2 separate regions of the Homo sapiens genome follow, and region 2 is linked to region 1. Evidence: promoter capture Hi-C in human tissues and cell types (Jung and others, 2019). All regions are on one chromosome and are shown on one strand. Each heading gives the region's core, a stretch centred on a gene start or on the middle of the fragment in contact. The rest is flanking DNA. Distances are from core to core; before and after follow the strand shown. Region 1 holds the start of SMG8 (SMG8 nonsense mediated mRNA decay factor). Region 2 has its middle 6.8 kb from the start of MIR21.

Region 1 (4,141 bases), core at 127-2,626:
TGAAGCTGCTGAGATCCACTTCTGATAAGTAGGAAGTTCAAAATGGGAAGGCTGTGGGTTCCTGCCCACACTGTCATCGAAACCTTTCTTGCTTAGAACTAGCTCCACATGCTGCCATAGGAATTCCCGAAGAGTGAAATCCACTAGCTGGCCTGAAGAACTGGAACTGCTGCTGTCAATGTGAAAGGAAAGTTGTTGTCGGCTGTGCTGCCTCATCACCTGGTATCGCCTAGGCCCAGAAAGGGGTGCAGGCACCAGCAAAGATTCCGGGTCCTTCACAGTACAATGACTCCTAAGTTGGTCCAGCAACATACCTACTGGGTCCTCCTCCTGGCTTCCCGGTACTATGTACACGAAAGCTTGGTTGGCAGGCACAGTAAAGAGGCAGTTGATGCTCTGATTAGTCAAGACACGACTCTTCCGGAAGATTCTATAGATCTGGTCCTCCAGGGCATGCTGCAGCCTCCTTTTGGGAGAATGTTTCTTGGGCTTGTCTGGATGAGCTGGGTCTTGGTTCCGAGGAGGTTCTACCTTGAGGGCTCCATTGAGTTGAAAGAGGAAAAGGAGTCTAGGTGGGCAAGGTCGGCAGTTTAGCTTCCAGTCTTTGCCAACTGGACAATCCTTAATGGCTGTTTTAAGGAGCGGCAGGACCTTCTGTCTCAGCCCATCCAGGGCTCTGAATACTCGATCATAAGTGATATCAAAGGAACAAGTGGGATGGACCAGAAGCAAGATATGACAGACAGAGAATAGGTAAAGGAGACTGAGGCACTGCAGCTTCTCTTGATGCTTCCAGAACTCGTGTGCTTCTGCATGAGGTAAAGAGAGTCCACCTCCAGCTTCCCCGCTCTGAAGAGCCCGACAAGCCCGGAGAAGCTGTGAATTGTCACAGATGGAGGTGAGGAGAAGATACAGAACTTTGCTTTCCTGACTGTAGTAGGCCTGCAGAAGGCTGTAGTCCTGGGAGCCTGCCTCAGTTCGGTTACCTTCCGCGACAGCTCCACTTCCCCGAACTGAACCCCCGGCTGCAGCCCCAGGGTCCTCGGCTCCACCGGCCTCACCCACGGCGCCAGCCTCAGTTCTGATTCCAGGTCCTGGATCCCCAGGATCTTGGTGGCGAAAGAGAGGAAAGACCTGTCGGTCGCACACCGTATTCACAAGAGAGAACTTCTCGGAATTCAGGCGTAGAGCCGTCTTGCCGAAGATTCCCACAACGCAGATCTCATCCTCCCGCCATGGAGGCTCCGGTCCGCCAGCCGCGCTCCCTCCGCCCTCAGTAGGGGACCCTCCGGGACTTTCAGAGCCCATCCAGGCTGATGCTCCCATTAGAAGGTCTCGCAAGCTCACGGGACCAGCCATAGTGCAGAGCGTTCTCTAGAGTCCTTCCGGTCCGTTAGTAAAACCGACCGGCTTTCGTCCAATTTTGAAATCCTTCCTCCGCTTCTTCAGTTCCTGCTTTCCCGTCACTTGAGTTCCGCCTCCTCTTCTCCTCTCCTAGTTTGTTTCCTCAACTGTAGGAATTGAGATATCAAAAACAAAAAACAAAAAAACAAAACAAAACTGGGACTACTGCGGTGGCTCACGCCTGTAATCCTAGCACTTTGGGAGGCCAAGGCGGGCGGATCACCTGAAGTCAGGAGTTCGAGACCAGGCTGGCCAACATGGTGAAACCCCATCTCTACTAAAAATACGAAAATTAGCCGGGCGTGGTGGCGGGCGCCTGTAATCCCAGCTACTCGGGAGGCTGAGGCAGGACAATCGCTTGAACCCGGGAGGCGGAAGTTGCAGTGAACCGAGATCACACCATTGCACTCCAGCCTGGGCAACAAGAGCGAAAACCGTCTAAAAAAAAAAAAAAAAAAAAAAAAAAAAGCAAAAATTAGGCGTGGTGGCGCATACCTGTAGTTCCAGCTGCTCAGGAGGCTGAGGCAGGAGAATTGCTCGAACCAGGAGGTGGAGGTTGCAGTGAGCCGAGATCACCCCGCTGCACTCCAGCCTGGGCGACAGAGTGAGACTCCGTCTCAAAAAAAAAAAAAATTGCGAAATATCTTTGTATGTAAATTATAACTTGCAGAACCTCTCTAACTAGAAGGCATATTGACAAATAGCTGCCAGGATAAAACTTACAACCAGATTTAAATGTATAATTATAACGTTTATTATTCTGGGGTTTTGTAAAAAATAAAAATCTTTGAATCTAAAAAAATTATCTATAGCACTATACAATAACATGACTGAATCTTTAAAATAAATGTTGATTGAAAGAAATCAGAAACAAAAGTGTATATACCCTATAATTCTATTTTTTTTTTTTTTTTTTTTTTTTTTTGGAGATGCAGTCTTGCTCTGTGGCCAGGCTAGAGTTCAGTGGCGCGATCTCGACTCACTGCAACCTCCGGCTCCCCGGTGCAAGTGATTCTCTTGCCTCAGCCTCCCAAGTAGCTGGGATTACAGGTGCGTGAGACCACACCCAGCTAACTTTTGTATTTTTAATAGAGACAGGATTTCACCATGTTGGCCAGGATAGTCTCAATCTCCTGATCTCATGATCTGCCCGCCTCGGCCTCCCAAAGTGGTGGGATTACAGGCGAGAGCCACTGCGCCAGGCCTGATTTTATTTCTATAGAGTTCAAAAGCAAGCAAAATAAACCATTGCATTTAGGGGTGTGTTCTTACTAAAAGCAAGGAAATATTTATTGTACCAAGTAGGTCAGTGATTACTTAGTGAGGGAAGGGATTATGATATAATATATATATTATATATATACATAATAATATATATTACACATATACATAATAATATATATTATATATATACATAATAATATATATTATATATATTTTGAGACAGAGTCTTGCTCTGTTGCCCAGAGTGGAGTACAGTGGTGCAATCTAAGCTCACTGCAAACTCCACCTCCCAGGTTCAAGTGATTCTACTGCCTCAGCCTCCCAAGGAGCTGGGATTACAGGTGCACCACCATGGGCGGCTAATTTTTGTATTTTTAGTAGAGATGGTGTTTCACCATGTTGGCCAGGCTGGTCTCGAACTCCCGACCTCACATCATCCACCCACCTCGGCCTCCCAAAGTGCTGGGATTACAGGTGTCAGCCACCACACCTCGCCTCCGGCCTAAAATTTTTTTTTTTTTTTTTTGTGAGACAGAGTCTCACTCTGTCACCCAGGCTGAAGTGCAGTGGTGCTATCTGGGATCACGGCAACCTCCATCTCCTATTCCCTGTCTCCGTCTCCTCAAGCAATTCTTCTGCCTCAGCCTCCCAAGTAGCTGGGATTACAAGCACGTACCACCACGCCCACCTAAACTTGTATTTTTAGTAGAGATGGGGTTTCCCCACGTTAGCCAGGCTGGTCTCGAACTTCCAACCCCAGGTGATCTGCCCACCCCGGCCTCCCAAAGTGCTGGGATTATAGGTTTGAGCCATCACGCTCGGCATTGATTTTTTAATTCATATATTTTCTATACTTACTATATACTTTTTTGTTTTTTTGAGACAGAGTCTCACTCTGTTGCCCAGGCTGGAGTGCAGTGGCGTGATCTCAGCTCCCTGCAAGCTCTGCCTCCCGGGTTCATGCCATTCTCCTGCCTCAGCCTCCCAAGTAGCTGGGACTACAGGCGCCTGCCACCACGCCCGGCTAATTTTTTGTATTTTTAGTAGAGACCAGGTTTCACCGTGTTAGCCAGGATGGTCTTGATCTTCTGACCTCATGATCCACCTGCCTTGGGCTCCCAAAGTGCTGGGATTACAGGCGTGAGCCACTGCGCCCGGCCAATATATACTTTTCTATAGGTATTATTATTTCTAGTTAAAAAAAAAGGTTAAAAAGGGAAAAACCAAAACTTTTATTAATCTTTATTTAAAGATGCAAGGTAGAACACATTTTAACACTGTACAATGGCAGTAGCAGCTTTGCAAATGTTTATCTATATGGACTTTTTTTTCCTGCCTGGCTTCGTTATATAGCAAAGCATTTTTCTTTTTTCTTTCTTTTTTTTTTTTTTTTTTTTTTGAGACAGCATCTTGCTCTGTCACCCAGCAGGCTGGAGTGCAGGTGGTATGAACACTGCTCGCTGGAGCCTCAACCTCCTGGACTCAAGTGATTCTCCCACCTCAGTCTCCCGAG
Region 2 (4,141 bases), core at 415-2,914, 640 kb before region 1:
CCTGCTTGGCCTCCCAAAGTGCTGGGATTACAGGCATGAGCCACCGCGCCCAGCCCCAGTATGCAGTTTTTTTAAAAAAAAAAATCTTAGTAGCTATCTTTTTAAGGAATAGAATGGGGGGCAGGTTTGCCCTAAGCAGTTCCCAGCTTGACTTTTCTTTGGCTTAGTGATTTTGGGGTCCCAAGATTTATTTTCCTTTCACCGGGCTTATGTTCTAGTGTCGCAAGCACTAGCAAGAAAATAGACAAACTAGTTGTGAATTTGGTCGGTACTTTAAGGAAACTAAACAGCGAGCTAAGGCAGAGCTACAGAGGACTCGAGTGGAAAACCTGATGCTGTCTTTCTCCCCACCCTACACATAGCCCCTTATTTGTTCTTTCCTGGTGTCTGAGTTTTTTTCTGGTTAGAATACCTTTCGTTTCACTCCCTCTACCTTGTCAATTCAAATACTACTCCCCTCAGGAAACTTTTGTTTTGTTTTTTTGAGACAGGGTCTCACTTTGTCACCTGGTCAACCAGGCTGGAGTGCAGTGGTGCAACCTTGGCTCACTGCAACCTCTGCCTCCCGGGTTCAAGCAATCCTCATGCCTCAGCCTCCCAAGTAGCTGGGATTACAGACATGCATCACTACGCCCAGCGAACTTTTGTATTTTTAGTAGAGACAGGGTTTTGCCATGTTGGGCCAGGCTGGTCTTGAACTCCTGGCGACAGGTGATCCTCCCACCTCATCCTCTTAAAGTGCTAGGATTATAGGCATAAGCCACGGTGCCCAGCCCTGTATTCACTTTTTAAATCCCCACTGGTGTAAGGTGCTGTGAAGAAGAGACAAAGTTGTCGATACAGATCTCCTCCCTCCAGGACCCTGCAGTCTTCTTAGGGATTTTATTCATATATGCAGATAACTATAATACAGAGTGAGGTGAGGGCCGTAAGAAAGGAAGTGTGAAGAGATCATTGCTGACAAGGAAAGATCAGAAAAGGGTTTCCTAGCCGAGTGCAGTGGCTCACACCTGTAATTCCAGCACTTTGGGAGGCCGAGGCAGGTGGATTGATTGAGCTCAGGAGTTTAAAACCAGCGTGGTCAACGTGGTGAAACCCTGTCTCTACTAAAAAAAAAAACTACAGAAATTAGCTGGGTGTGGTGGTGCAGCTCTGTAGTCCCAGCTACTGGTGGGGAGTGGGGCGGCTGTGGCGGGAGGATTGCTTGAGCCTGGGAGGTGGAGGTTGCAGTCAGCTGTGGCTGTGATTGCGCCACTGTACTTCAGCTTGGGCAACAGAGTGAAACCCTGTCTCAAAACAAAACCCAAACTCAAGACATTAAAATACTTTGAAAAATAAAAAAAGGCTGTAGAAATAGAAATTACTTTTACCCAAGTGTGGTGGTGAGTGCCTGTAGTCCCAGCTACTCGGGAGGCTGAGGCGGGAGGATGACTTGAGCCCAGGAGTTGGAGTTCGGCCTGGGTAACATGGGAGACCCCATCTCCTTAAAACAAACAAACAAAAAACCTTGCTTTTAAATCATAATTATAGCAAACACCACTCTGGGAATCTGCCCACATGGATGGCTAAGAATGGAGCTTGCTTTTCCAACCCTGTGATACAGGGAAGAGTAAAGTCTGCTTATCTATTTAAATAGCAAAATTTGAGGTTGTGGCCTTGATTTTCTGTTATCTTCCTTTCTCCATCAACTACCTGTGATCAGGGCCGGGCGCGGTGGCTCACACCTGTAATCTCAGCACTTTGGGAGGCCGAGGCGGGCGGATCACGAGGTCAGGCGATTGAGACCATCCTGGCTAACACGGTGAAACCCCGTCTCTACTAAAAATACAAAAAATTAGCTGGGCGAGGTGGCGGGCGCCTGTAGTCCCAGCTACTCGGGAGGCTGAGGCAGGAGAATGGCTTGAACCCGGGAGGCGGAGCCTGCAGTGAGCGGAGATCGCCCCACTGCACTCCAGCCTGGGCGACAGCGAGACTCCATCTCAAAACAAACAAATAAACAACAACAACAACAACAAAAAAAAAACAAAAAAAACTACCTGTGATCACAAGATGAAACAAGTATGCTGAAGCTTGGACTTTTGCACTGATTTCTACAGAACAGAGTAGTTCAGAGCCAGAACGCCTCTGCTGCCTGCTCTACTTCCTTGTTTCCCTTGACAAATTACTGAACCACCCTGCCTTAATTTCCTCATGGGGTTGTTAAGTACAACACATGTGAAACAGCCCTGAAAATAATGCCTGGTACAAAGCAAACAATCATTATCAAAAGTTGTAGTAATCCACTGTGCTTCCTGGTACAGGGCACGCCAGAGTTCCCGGGAGCTAATCTTGATTGCTGGTGCTCCGTGTGGTTGTTGTGTACAAAGAAATTACCATGGAGGGAACATGGAGATGGGAAAGGGCTGGTGCAATGGGCAGAATGAAGAGGTGTCTGAAGAACCAACAACCTGAGGCTAGGCAGGAACATCTGGCAGCTCTCAGAGAGGTTTAGCAGTCCTTACTCAAGTGCAACTGACTGTGAGGTGCACTAAAGAGTGAAAGGCAGAGAAAGGCCTCCCTGCCTTAGTCTTGGCCTTCATCTTCTTAACTAATGAAAAGAAGCTGGGTGCTTGCTTTGGCAGCACATACACCAAAATTGGAACAATATACAGAAGATTAGCATGGCCCCTGCACAAGAATGACACTCAAATTTGTGTTCTGTATTAAAAAAAAAAAAAAAAAAAAAAAAGGCTGGGCATGGTGGTTCATGCTTGTAATCCCAGCACTTTGGGAGGCCGAGGCGGGTGGATCACCTGAGGTTAGGAGTTCGAGACCAGCCTGGCCAACATGATGAAACCCCGTATCTACTGAAAAAAATACAAAAAATTAGCCGAGTGTGGTGGCATGCACCTGTAATCCCAGCTACTTGAGAGGCTGAGGCAGGAGAATCGCTTTGAACCTGGAAGGCGGAGGCTGCAGTGAGCCGAGATTGCGCCACTGCACTCCAGCCTCGGCAACAAGAGTGAAACTCCGTCTCAAAAGAAAAAAAAAAAAGTTGGGAAAAACATGGTTCTCCAGGGCCGTGGCAAGCCAGGCTTCTGCACTACTGCCAAGAGGAGTGAACTTGAGCTGCTTTTCGTTTCCTCCACACAACATGGTGAGGAGCCAAAGGAAGACAGTGATCTAAGTCATTCCCCACCTTCAGGCGGCACCATCCCTGTTTTCAAATCCCTAACTGCCTCACTCCCCTAAAGCATTTTTTCCCCGCTGGAAACAGACTGGAACACAATTAAGCAATGTTGATCACTGCTTCAGTCAAAAGTGGTCTGAAGGGAAAAGCTGATGTGTTTTGTCCCCCAAAAGGGATAGATGGCCTCAAAGGAAAATGTCGCATTTGGATTAGATTTGTGGTAGGGGAGGAGTGACCTGCCAAGGGCTCCTTGAATAAACAAAACTGTTCCTCAAAGGGCTTTGGGTGGAGGTCATCAAAGCAAGTTCACAGAAAGATCCTCCTCCCTGGTAACTCTCCAGAGATGGCTGACTCTTTGCTTACATAGGTAGCTCAGGGGTCCCACTTGAAGTCAGTTGCCCAGAATAAGCCAGAGCCTGCCCCCTCAAGAATTCAGGAATGTGGTTTCCAATGCAAATAAAGGCTAAATTGTAGAAACAGTGCTGGAGTGTGTTCAAGCCCTCCCTCTAGGTCCTCTGAGTCATTTGGAAATGGTTAACAAACAGGTTGGACACCTGGGTTGATTACTGCTGAAGGGGATTTCCACACAAACCCTATACTGTAAAATCATCCTCTTGCCTTCCCAAAGCAATTCAGTTCCACTTTCTAGATCGAATGTGCCTTAAAGATTCCAAATGTCCTAAATCAGATCCTAGGGTTCCTAAATTAGAGCAGCAACTGCTGCTGACACAAAGAAACAAGGAGCCAAGCAACTTTGTGCTTAAAAAAAAAAAAAAAAAAAGTTTATTTTAAATTAAGAGGAACAGATGTCCAATGTTTCAAAAAGCCACACATTTGTGGATTTGGCTGACAAACTCTCTAAGCTGCATTTTATTTCTGTTCCCATAGAGTCAGCTAGCCACTTGCAACTGACTCACTTCTCTCTGGGCCACAGTTTGGGCCAGTCTCCTGACTACAGAATTAGAATCCAGA

The links. The method cuts DNA at HindIII sites, captures the fragments that hold promoters and counts their contacts. A contact is called where the count stands out against the background at its distance.
Region 2: a contact is called between a fragment that was not itself captured here and the fragment with the promoter of SMG8 in region 1, in 1 of the 25 tissues and cell types used here (dorsolateral prefrontal cortex).

What each region holds. Positions count from the first base shown.
Region 1 is chr17:59,207,270-59,211,410 of GRCh38, reverse strand. It overlaps SMG8 (SMG8 nonsense mediated mRNA decay factor), which reads right to left and starts at 1,376. Exons shown (of 4, transcript NM_018149.7): 1 at 1-1,376. The coding sequence starts at 1,359. RefSeq lists an enhancer at 1,498-1,567. The HindIII fragment of the contact is 6,268 bases long and covers 107-4,141 here.
Region 2 is chr17:59,846,009-59,850,149 of GRCh38, reverse strand. It overlaps the pseudogene RNU6-450P. Among named protein-coding and RNA genes, the nearest start is that of MIR21, 6.8 kb to the right of the region's middle. RefSeq lists enhancers at 763-1,082, 2,623-3,611 and a silencer at 2,485-2,584. The HindIII fragment of the contact is 8,201 bases long and covers 1-4,141 here.